Regions from separate parts of the Homo sapiens genome. Here all the other regions are linked to region 4. Evidence: promoter capture Hi-C in 16 types of primary human blood cells and fetal thymus (Javierre and others, 2016). All regions are on one chromosome and are shown on one strand. Each heading gives the region's core, a stretch centred on a gene start or on the middle of the fragment in contact. The rest is flanking DNA. Distances are from core to core; before and after follow the strand shown.

Region 1 (2,812 bases), core at 174-2,673, 720 kb after region 4:
AGCTTCAGCAAGTTACCCAGAAGATCTAGCTAAGACCATTGAGCAAGGTGGCTGCACTAAACAACAGATTTTCAATGCAGATGAAATAGCACAATATGGTCATGGAAGAAGATGCCATCTAAGACTTCATAGCTAAAGAGGAGAAGTCAATACCTGGCTTCAAAGCTTCAAAGAACAGGCTGACTCTCTCGCTAGGGGCTAATGCGGGAGATGACTTTAAGTTGAAGCCAGTGCTCATGCACCACTCCGAAAGTCCTAGGGCCCTTAAGGGTGATGCTAAATCTACTCTGCCTGTGCTCTATAAGTGGAACAACAAAGCCTGGATCACAACACAGCTGTTTATAGCATAGTTTAAGCCCACTATTGACACCTACTGCCCAGAAAATAAACTTCTTTTCAAAATGTTACTGGTCATTTTCAAAACCCCTGGTCACCCGAGAGCTCTGATGAAGATGTACAAGGAAGTTAATGTCATTTTCATGCCTGCTAACACAACATTCATTCTGAGCCTATTGATTAAAGAGTAATTTCAACTTTCAAGTCTTATTATTTAAGAAATACATTTCCTAAGGCTCTAACTGCCATACATAGTGATTCCTCTGAAGGATTTGAACAATGTAAATTGAAAACCTTCTGGAAAGGATTCACCATTCTAGATGCCATTGAGAATATTCATGATTCATAGGAGGAGGTCAAAATATCAACATTAACAAGAGTTTGGAAGAGGTTGATTTCAATCCTCATGAATGACTTTGAGGGGATTCAGAACTTCAGTGGAGGAAGTCATTGGAAATGTGGAAATAGCAAGAAAACTAGGATTAGAATTGGAGCCTGAAGATGGGACTGAGCTGCTGCAATCTCATGATGAAACATGACTGGATGAGGAGCTGCTTCTGATGGATGAGCAATGAAAGTGGTTTCTAGAGAAGGAATCTGCTTCTGGTGAAGATGCTGTGAACATTGTTGAAATGACAAAAAGGATTTAGAATACTATGTAAACTTATTTGATAAAGCAGCTGCAGGGTTTGAGAGGATTGACTCCAAGTTTTAAAGTTCTACTGTGGGCAAATTGCTATCGAATAGCATGGCACGCTGCAGAGAAATCTTTTGTGAAAGGAAGAGTCAGCTGATGTGGCCCACTTCAGAGTGGTCTTATTTTAAGAAACTGCCACAGCCACCCTAACCTTCAGCAACCACTACCCTCATAAGTCAGTAGCCATCAACATTGAGACAAGACCCTCCACCAGCTAAAAGATTACAACTTTTTTTTTTTTTTTAAGACGGAGATCTCAACTCACTGCAAACTTTGCCTCCCAGATTCAAGTGATTCTCCCGCCTCAGCCTCCCGAGCAGCTGGGACCACAGGCGCGCACCACCTCGCCCAGACAATTTTTGCATTTTTAGTAGAGACGGGGTTTCACCATGTTGGCCAGGATGGGTCTCAATCTCTTGACCTTGTGATCCACCTGCCTCCGCCTCCCAAAGTGCTGGGATTACGGGTGTGAGCCACCGCACCCAGCCCAACAACTTTTTTTTAATAATCATCTTAGGCTCAGATGATCATTAGCATTTTTTAGGAAGAAGTTATTTTTAAAATTAAGGTATGTACTTTTTTAGACATACTGCTATTGTACACTTAGACTACAGTATAGTGTAAACATAGCTTTTATATGCACTAGAAAACCAAAAAATGTGTGCGGCTTGCTTTATTGTGATATTCACCTTACTGAGGTGGCCTGAAATCAACCCTACAATACCTCCATGGTATGCTTGTATTATTTTTGTACCTTCATTTGAATCTATAACTATCTCAAAGTTGGCACTATGGAAAGGGAGAGGATGAGGGCTGTAAACATTACTGATTTATTTGGGGTCAGGAAGAAAGTAGACTCGAAACTAACATCTTGCAAAAATAATGTTATTATATCTTATACCATATCAGTCTTCAGTGAGTAGAAAGCCAGGACACCACTTTCTCCTTAGAGCTCATTGTCATTGGCAAATATAATGAAGGTTGGTGGGCAGAATTCTGGGTTCAAATCTCAGCTCTGTCGCATGTGGCTGTGTGGCAGGAGGCAAGTGGCCCCTGCAAGTTGCTGGGCATTTTCTCATCTGTAAAATGCGGAAGATGGTACCAACCTCCCCGCATGCCATGGAGATCAAGTGATAGTATGTATAATACATACATTAGGCTGGCCCAGAAGAGTGATTAACAAGCCTTAATCCATTAAAAGAAGGATCAAAAACTGTGGCCCTTGAGCCAAATCTGGCCATGTCCTTCTTTTCCATATTGCCTGTATGCCTGTGTGGCATATGCCACAACCGCAGAACTGAGTAGTTGCAAAAGAGATCATATGGCCTGCAAAGCCAAAAAAAATTTGCTGTTTCACCCTTTACTGAAAAAGTTTGCTAACCCCTGCATTTAAAAATGCCTTACCAGGCGGGATGCAGTGACTCATGCCTATAATCCCAGCACTTTGGGAGGTGGAGGCAGGCAGGTTGCATGAGTTCAGGAGTTCGAGACCAGCCTGGGCAACACAGAGAAACCCCATCTCAAAAAAAAAAAAAAAAGCCTTACCGGTTCACCAAAGAAAAAGAAAATGCCTTATTATATCTAAATGACCATATTATATCTAAATGACCTTTGACAAAGAGGCAAAAGCACTTCAATGGAGGAATGATAAGCTTTTCAATAAATGGTACTGGAGCAATTGGACATCCATAAACAATAACAACGACAAAAGAACCTCAACCTAAACTTCACACCTTATACAAAAATTAATTCAAAAGGGATCACATACTTAAATGTAAA
Region 2 (2,700 bases), core at 191-2,690, 790 kb after region 4:
GCACCAGCAGATGCGTCTGCACGCCCAGCAGCAGCAGGCAGGAGTCATGGACCTTCTGGAAGCCCAGCTGGAGACCCAGCTACAGGTACAAGTTACAGAACTGGACCTTCCAAAAGCAGTGGTTTAAAGAGGAGCAGAAATAGCTGAAGCCAGCCTGTGACCACACGTCAGCCATGGGGACTGCACTTCCCTGCCTGTGGCATCGTTGACCCGCTGAGTCTCACCTGCTGAGGGTGTGTCGGCCTCGCCTTAGGACCCTGAGCCCCTGGAGGGCAAGTGTGGCCTGTGTGGATCCCTACAGCAGCTGCAGCATGCTAAGCAGGGCCAGGCCCTGAGCAGCTGGTCAGGCCTCATCTATGGAGCTGACAGAGAATTGAGCATTCCCCTGTGTGCGCATGGCCACCAGGAGGCTTCCGGTGTAATGGTGACCTCTGTGTCACTCAGGCAGTGTTGGCGATAGCTAAAGTTTACACTTTATTTACAGCAAACAGGAAGCTCAGCTCTCATGATATAAAGTGCATATTTCATTACAGAAAATCCCATTTGTGTGAGGTTATACAGTGAGATGTAAGGTGAGAGTATAAAGTGTGGCTAAGCAAAGTGGCTGCCTTTAAAAAAATCAAATCTTCCAGAATGGAAGCATTTAGCAGAGTGTTGGCCCTTTCAGAGTGTTCTCCACTGGCGATGGCAGTCGCAGAGTGACAGTGGTAAGAATACAGCAGTGGTGGCCGATAGGTACTTATTGAGGGTCTATGATAGATAGTCATGAGCTGAGAGCTTTGCACACACTTTCCAACAAAAGAGGTTACTGCTACTGTCCCCATTACAGATGGACAAACTGAGGCATGCACAGGTTACGTTGCTATCCAGGGTCACACAGTTAATGCATCATGGAATTCTGGTGTGTTTGTTTACACCACAGTGTTGGAAGTTTAGAGCCCAGCCTGTGGAGTCGGGCAGAAGTGAGTCCCATCCTATTCTGCTGCACCTGCTCCGGGCAGGTCACTGAGGCCCTCTGACCTCAGTGTACTCTGTCAACTGAAGACCGACGGCCAGTGTGAGTGAGGACCCACAGTTATGCAGCAGGAGCTGGTAGATGCCAGTGTGTCCTCCTGCTCCTCTCCTCTCTGGGATGTATGTTGGAAAATTCTCCTCCACACGGGAGACGTGGTCTTCAGTGGCCAGCCTCAAGTGTCAGAATTCACTCACGTGGAGAGGGATTTAGAGAAGTCAGAGGGAGGCCCAGCTGAATGCTCCTCTCTGCTTGCATTTCAGGAAGCTGAACAGAACTTCATCTCCGAGCTGGCAGCCTTGGCCCGAGTGCCCCTTGCTGAAAGCAAACTGTTGCCTGCTAAGCGTGGGCTGCTAGGTGAGTCACAGATGCTTGAGTTGCAGCGGGAAGCACTCTGGGCTGAGAGATACGGATTCTAGTTCCACACTGGCCACTAACTAGCTGTGTGACCTTAGGCATCGTGCCTAGGCTCTCTGGGCTTTTGTGACCTTGTCTGTAAATGAGCAGGCTTGGCTAGGCCACCCCTCAGGCCCACTTGCTCTCTAGCATTTGATAATTCCAGTTCTTGGGTCTGGTGTTCACTGGCTGTGTCTCCTAACTGACTCCATTTTTCCATCTGTAAAGTGGGGATAAGCCCTCCTCCCACCCTTGCCAGCGACAACTTCAGTGACATCACAGGATTTTTTAACCTGGTAATGAGAGAGTGACTCAGAAGGTGGTGTGAGAACACAGAGATCTACTGAAACAAAAGCTGTCACACTGGTGCTGGGTTTTCAGTTGCTTGCTGCTTCATTAAGTCTTCCAGTCAGCTGGGTAGAGTGGATACCCAGCGGGAGCCTAGCAGACTGGAGCTCAAGCCACAGCTCTGCCACTTCCTGGCTTGTGCAGGCTTGGGAGAGTACGTCACCTTCCCAGGCCTCAGTTTCCTCATTAGTTGAGTGGCTGCAATAGCATAAGATACCAAGCATACACTTGGCCCACACAACATGCTCAAAAATGTCAGGCTGGGTTGGTGTGAGGCTGCAAGAAGTTGTCACTTGTCTAAAGTCACAGAGCCATGCCTGGGTTCATCTGTCCTCTACAGAGAAGCCCCTAAGGACTAAAAGGAAGAAGCCCCTGCCCCAGGAAAGAGGGGACCTGGGGGTGCCCAACAATGAGGACCTTGCCTCCGGGGACCAGACCTCAGGCTCACTCAGGTATGACTGGGCCCCGGACCTGTTGCCTGTGGCTGGGTTTGGTAAATGCACTCAGCTGCTGTGTGCCAAAAGTCAGGGCAGGAAAATCATCAGTCCCCTCAGAGGCATTAAATGTGAAGGTTCAAGAAATGACAGATATGAACGTAATTTGTGGGCAGTAAGCCATGATGATACCAGGGGTGCCACATGGCTGTTACCCTTCCTGTTTGTGTCTCATTTGGCCAGATGAGCCTTGACCTACCTCCACACCCCATTGGCATCCAGCCTGAAGTGTTGGGCAGTCCCTTCTTTGACCAGGGATGGCTGTGGTCATGGCACTTGGATGACCTCCTACCCAAGGAGGGAAACGGGTTTTATTGGTTTCTTAACAACCCATGTCAAAGTAAAAATTGTTTTGATCACCTTTGGCTGCATTTTCATTTAATCCGATTGGGTAAGTTATGGCATCATGATGGGCATGGAGTCAGCGTTCTAACTGGCTGCCTTTCTTCT
Region 3 (2,700 bases), core at 63-2,562, 770 kb after region 4:
TTTTAGTAGAGAAGGGGTTTCATCATGGTGGCCAAGCTGATCTCAAACTCCTGAACTCAAGTGATCTGCCCGCCTTAGCCTCCCGAAGTGCTGGGATTACAGGCATGAGCCACTGTGCCCAGCCCAGATTGATTTTATCTTTAAAAAATTAAAAACTGTTAAATTAAAGAAGGCATTTCCAAATTCAACATCCACCAAGACAGCCCACCAGTCCTTTCTCCCCTGCCTTCGGCCCTCTAGAGGCTGTGAAACTAACATCCTCAATATCCATATCCCTTGCAACTAGCCATGGCTGAGTGACACTGCTCTGGCCTTTGAAACAAAGCAAAGGGCTTCTGTTTCCTGATACCAGAGCCGGTTTTGCTTGGAGCAGCCCCCTTCTTCAGTGTCCCATTCTTCCTTCTTAGAACGCATGGGAGGCCTGGAGGTGCATCAGCCTTTCTCTGCCCTAGAGGCAGCCTGCGTGAGCCTGGTGGGCTCCAGATGGTGGAGCAGTCTCAGACAGCCCTGAGCCCCTGGCAGTGCTGTTAAGCCATTACCGCAGCCCTGAACCGCCTGCCCCTACATGCTTATTGTCAGAAACAAGCCCTGTTTCTTTAAGTTGGGTTTGCGATTAGTTACAAAAGACCAGTGTGACTGATGCATCCATCTGAAAGAGGTTTCCTAAAACAATTCCTTGGGGCAATAGAAAGTACAAAGTAGATAGAGGAGAGCGTTATGCAAACACATGACCACTCACAGCTGTGGGGACAGGCACAGGGCCTAGTTGCCTGCCCGAATGAATTCTTAGACCTCCTTCTAGTTCATTCAGTCCTCTGTCAGTGGCATCCGGTTGCCCTGTCGTAGGTGACTTGTCTGTCTCCTGCATTTGGCTATGAGTTCCTTGAGGACGGCAACCCTGATTTTCATCTTGACACCACCTATTCAAAGCCCAGTGGCTGCAATATGGTAAATGTTCAGGAAAACTTGTAGCATTTCCAGCAACAATAATGCAGCTTTGGAAATGATTACAGTGTTGCCTTTGCCCTGTATTCTTCGAAGGGATCTAAATGAAGCTGAATTCTTCCTATTCATTCCAAATCCTAGGCCGCAGACCAATTCATTTACAGTCTTTGGGGAGGGAGGAGGACCTGGGCCTCAGTGTCTCAGAAACCAGGTGAGCCTAATGGGCCTCTGAAGTGGACCCACTAAATGAGTGTAGGGGCCTTTTAGAGACCATTGTGGTTTTGCAGCCAGGCCCCTAACCTCAGAAGCCTAAGATATGGGTTTGAGCCAGAGCAGACACATTAATGGGCTGTGTGACTTTAGCCAGTGAGCTGACCTCTTGCAACTCTGTGATTTTACACAACTTGCTAAAAATGCCTCAGAACTACACCTTCTATGTGAAAACTAAGGGTCACAATATCCAAATGATTCCATTCAGATAATGCAAGTTAAGACCTTTTGCACAATATCTGTTGAATCATTTAATGGTATTGATAGTGAAGGAATCCAGAATTTCATTTCTGACAAAACACCTGTGATTCATCTAAAACTCTCTGGTTAGGAGTCTTAAGTTATTTTAGGCAAATAGACTATGCTCAGCTCTGTTTTGAATGTTTTATTTGTTTACTTTGTGAGCATACGATTGTGAATTTTTCTTGGCATGTGGGGAAGGTTTCTGGTTGAGTTTTGCATGCAGGAAGCAAGCAGGAGAGTTAATGACCTCATCAGCTGATTACATAAGTATGACCCAAGACTGTTTTCTCAAGGTGTCTATGTCACAGTTAATTTACTGATTACTTAACTGCCTTAAATTAACACATGATAGCCGGGTGCGGTGGCTCACGCCTATAATCCCAGCACTTTGGGAGGCCAAGACGGGCGGATCATGAGGTCAGGAGATCGAGACCATCCTGGCTAACATGGTGAAACCCCGTCTCTACTAAAAATACAAAAATTAGCCAAGTGTGATGACAGGTGCCTGTAGTCCCAGCTACTCGGGAGGCTGAGGCAGGAGAATGGCGTGAACCCGGGAGGCAGAGCTTGCAGTGAGCCGAGATCACGCCACTGAACTCCAGCCTGGGTGACAGAGCGAGACTCCGTCTCAAAAAAAAAAAAAAAAAAATTAACACACGATAGTTAGAGATCCACCTGCCATATTTCCTCATTGATGAAAAAAAGAGAAATGAGCTCTCTGTCATTCAGATGAATATTAGTCATGAGAAGAAAAGCACCAGCGAAGCTATTCATGGAAAATCAAAAACACATCGACTACAAATTGCCTTTCCCACATTGTTTTCTATCCAAAAAGACAGTGGGTCGTTTCATATCCCATTGCTCAGGGAAGTTATTAAAAATTAATGGAATTTGTGAATTACCCCGTTAGAACAGGTTGTAGAATGGTGTTTCTCAAAATTTAATCTGCTCTAATGCAGATTTCTGCTCTCAGTCCCCTTGCGGTAGGCAGCTATAATGGCCCCCCAGAGAGGCCCACATCCTAATCCCTAAAACCCGTGAATATGTCTGGTTACAAGGCAAAAAGGACTTTGCAAATCTTTGCGAATGTGATTAAGCAAAGGATCGTGAGATGGGGATATTCTCCCGATGATCTGGCTTGGCCCCATGTTATCACAAGGGTCCTTATAAGTGAAAAAGGAGCAGCAGTGCCAGAGTGAGGAGTGAGGAAGACTCTGCAGCCATTGCTGGACTTGAAGACGG
Region 4 (2,718 bases), core at 143-2,642:
TCGATAACAAGAAACTTGTGGGTAAATTGTGGTGAAACTGTACAACAAAATGTTAAAACAAAAATGAACTTATTTGATAGTGTCATTAAAAAGTAAGTTGCAAAACTGCTTGTGCTGTTTGACCCAAATTTTGTTTACACACACACACACACACAACACACACGTATTTGAATACCTATATGTAGACAGAAAGCTGAAATATGATCCTCCACAATGCTACGGCAGCAGCTACCTCTAGGTGGTAGAATTACAAGCAAGATTTTTTTTCTTCTTTGTACTTTATTTTCCAACTGTTCTACAAAGTACAATACTTTTATAATTAGGGAAAAAATACATGTTATTTAACTTTTAAAAAGAAAATACCAAGAAGGTGTTAGCTAGGCTTTTGTAAACCCCAACATCTGAGAAACATTATGTTTTGTTTGAAGCATTTGCAAGTGATTAAAAGACACTTTGAAACTTTACAAAAGCTTTTAATGAAGTTTAATGCATTTTGTTTCGACGGAGAAGCAGGCAGAGGCCTGGGTTCTAGTCCCCAAAAGCCCTCCCGGGTCTTCCCCTCTCTGAGTCCCCAGATCTGCCTCTGAAGATCGTGCTCACATCAGCTGGCATCTGTTGAGTACTTGTTCCTGTAGGCTTGGCTCTGTGAGCCCTGCCTGTGTTCACACCTGCCTTTGATCGTCAAAGCCACTCTAAAGGGAGGGGTGCTACTGTCATCCCATTTTACAGACAAGAAAACTGAAAGGCAGAGGCTGAGAAATTTGCCCGGGTCCCTCAGCAGATGAGGGGCGGAGGCCAGTTCTGTGAGCCACCTCTTAGGGCACACTCCTCACTAGGCTAACAAAAGCAATACACAAGCTTCATTCCTCCGTCCTCCTTAACTCTGATGGGGAGCTGTTTTTCTCCCCATCCTCCCACTCCTTTTTTTTTCTTTTTTCTTTTTTTTTTTTTTTTTTTTTTTTACATTTTACAACAGATCCTTTGATATTTGCTAGTAAGTCACAAAAATTGTGTTGTCTTTACTTTTTCTTGTGTTTTGAAGAAAGCAAACCATTGGTATCATATTTAAAAGGAGATGAATAAAACACAAATACTCCTGAGATTTACATTTACTAGAAAAGAAAAATATCCTTTTCTCTCTCTCTCTCTTTTTTTTTTCGTGTAAAGGCAAGGGTTTAAGAACTGGGTCTGCCATGCACCCCTGTCCTGAGCGGGCGGGGGACTCACCGAGGGCTCCGAGACCTGCAGGAGGTTGAAGTCGCGGGTGATCTCCTGGCTCAGGGCCCGCATGCGGGAGTAGCAGGTCGGGGGAGTGGGCCGCGCGGCGGGGGCTCCCGCCAGGAGCAGCAGCAGCACGGGCAGAGGCCCAGGCGTCCTCATGGTGCCAGGCGCTGGTGCAGCCTCGCCGACCGCCCCTTTATGCAGGCTGGGGGTGGTCCAGGGCGGCTCCACGCCTCCACTTCCTGTGGGGCCAGCGCAGGCTGCGGTCCATCCAGGGTGGCAGAGAGGAAGCCAGCACGCCCACCGGGCAGGGTCGGGACAGGAATCCTCTCAGACACGAAAGCCCCAGGTTAAGAGGAGGGGCTGCCTGGAGGAGGGGGTGACAGAGGGTGGCTTTGCCTCCCCCACACTTTCAGCAAGAAATTTCTTTCTGCACAGGGACTTTTCCTGAAAAGGCAGGAACAGCAGATGGAGAGGGGTGGGGGATAAGAGGAGGACAGAGATGGAAGGAGGGGAGGGTCAGAGGAGAGGAGTGGGCAGTCAGGCCTGGGTTTGGATGGCACGGTTTGTCAAAATGGATATAGTGCCAGGAGGGAAAGGGACTAGCAGGGGATGACTGAGCATCCCTCCCTCCAGGCAGCCCGCAGTGGAGCAGGGATGCAGAGCTGCGGTCAGGCCACCGGTGTCCTCGTCCATCAATCGCTAACCAGGTAGGTGAGCCTTGGGCCAGGGCCCCCAGCCTCTCAGAAGCCGTGTGTGTCTCTCGGTCCGGAGGATGGGCTCACTGAGCGGCCGTATGTGTGGGGAGTGTGAGTACCCCCACCCTCTTCTACCTCAAGCTCCCAGCACAGGCCCCGAGGGAGAGCAGACCCTCAGGAAGGGTTAGTTTTCAAGAAGTGCATCTCCCTCAGGGCTAACTTCCCAAGACAGTGGCAGGTAAAGGTCTAGGCTCTCCACTTAGACGCCGTGGGTGCAAAGCAGGGTCACCGCCTTCTGGCTTTGACCTTGGGCAAGTTTCTTCAGTGTTTCCTCCATCTCCTTATCTGTGAGATGAGGCTGGTGAGAGTGGCTCACTCAAAAGGCCATAGTGAGGAATCAACAGGATATAGCATGACTGAGCAAGCCTCATGCCAGGCCCATTGTGTGTTTCCAAGTGATCGGAGCTAATAGCACTGTCTCTGTTAAATCCAGCAATTGTCTCTGTGAGGTAGGTGCCACAGAAAAGAGTCCCATTTTCCAGGTGGGAAAACTGAGGCTCAAGAGTTCCAGCAACTTGCTGGAGGTCACAAAGCTGGAGGCACATGGGTTGGGATGAGACTTCAGGCCCTGTCCTCCTGCCATTCTTCCATCCCACAGGGCAGGATGGGTGAGGAGCAGGACTCTTGCAGGCAGAGATGAGTTGGGGTCCTCAGGCTGCCCAAGATCAGGCAACAAGCAAGAAGGAACTGTCAAAAGGGAGAAGATTCTTCCTTAACACTGAACATGACTTACATACCA

The links. The method cuts DNA at HindIII sites, captures the fragments that hold promoters and counts their contacts. A CHiCAGO score of 5 or more calls a contact.
Region 1: a fragment that was not itself captured here is called in contact with the fragment with the promoter of CYTL1 in region 4 in 1 of 17 cell types (monocytes); the score reaches 5.4 in monocytes.
Region 2: a contact is called between a fragment that was not itself captured here and the fragment with the promoter of CYTL1 in region 4, in 5 of 17 cell types (M2 macrophages, megakaryocytes, monocytes and 2 more). The highest score is 12.8, in M2 macrophages.
Region 3: a fragment that was not itself captured here is called in contact with the fragment with the promoter of CYTL1 in region 4 in 5 of 17 cell types (M2 macrophages, M0 macrophages, monocytes and 2 more); the score reaches 8.5 in M2 macrophages.

What each region holds. Positions count from the first base shown.
Region 1 is chr4:5,737,345-5,740,156 of GRCh38, forward strand. All of the region lies in intron 5 of EVC (EvC ciliary complex subunit 1), which reads left to right. Among named protein-coding and RNA genes, the nearest start is that of EVC, 28 kb to the left of the region's middle. The HindIII fragment of the contact is 2,520 bases long and covers 164-2,683 here.
Region 2 is chr4:5,808,243-5,810,942 of GRCh38, forward strand. EVC (EvC ciliary complex subunit 1) reads left to right here. Exons shown (of 21, transcript NM_153717.3): 18 at 1-85; 19 at 1,276-1,369; 20 at 2,097-2,208. Among named protein-coding and RNA genes, the nearest start is that of CRMP1, 83 kb to the right of the region's middle. The HindIII fragment of the contact is 3,963 bases long and covers 1-2,700 here.
Region 3 is chr4:5,784,784-5,787,483 of GRCh38, forward strand. The region is part of intron 12 of EVC (EvC ciliary complex subunit 1); the gene reads left to right. Among named protein-coding and RNA genes, the nearest start is that of EVC, 75 kb to the left of the region's middle. The HindIII fragment of the contact is 4,182 bases long and covers 1-2,700 here.
Region 4 is chr4:5,018,066-5,020,783 of GRCh38, forward strand. CYTL1 (cytokine like 1) reads right to left here and starts at 1,393. Exons shown (of 4, transcript NM_018659.3): 1 at 1,228-1,393. The coding sequence starts at 1,380. It also overlaps a transcript of STK32B not described here. The HindIII fragment of the contact is 2,032 bases long and covers 857-2,718 here.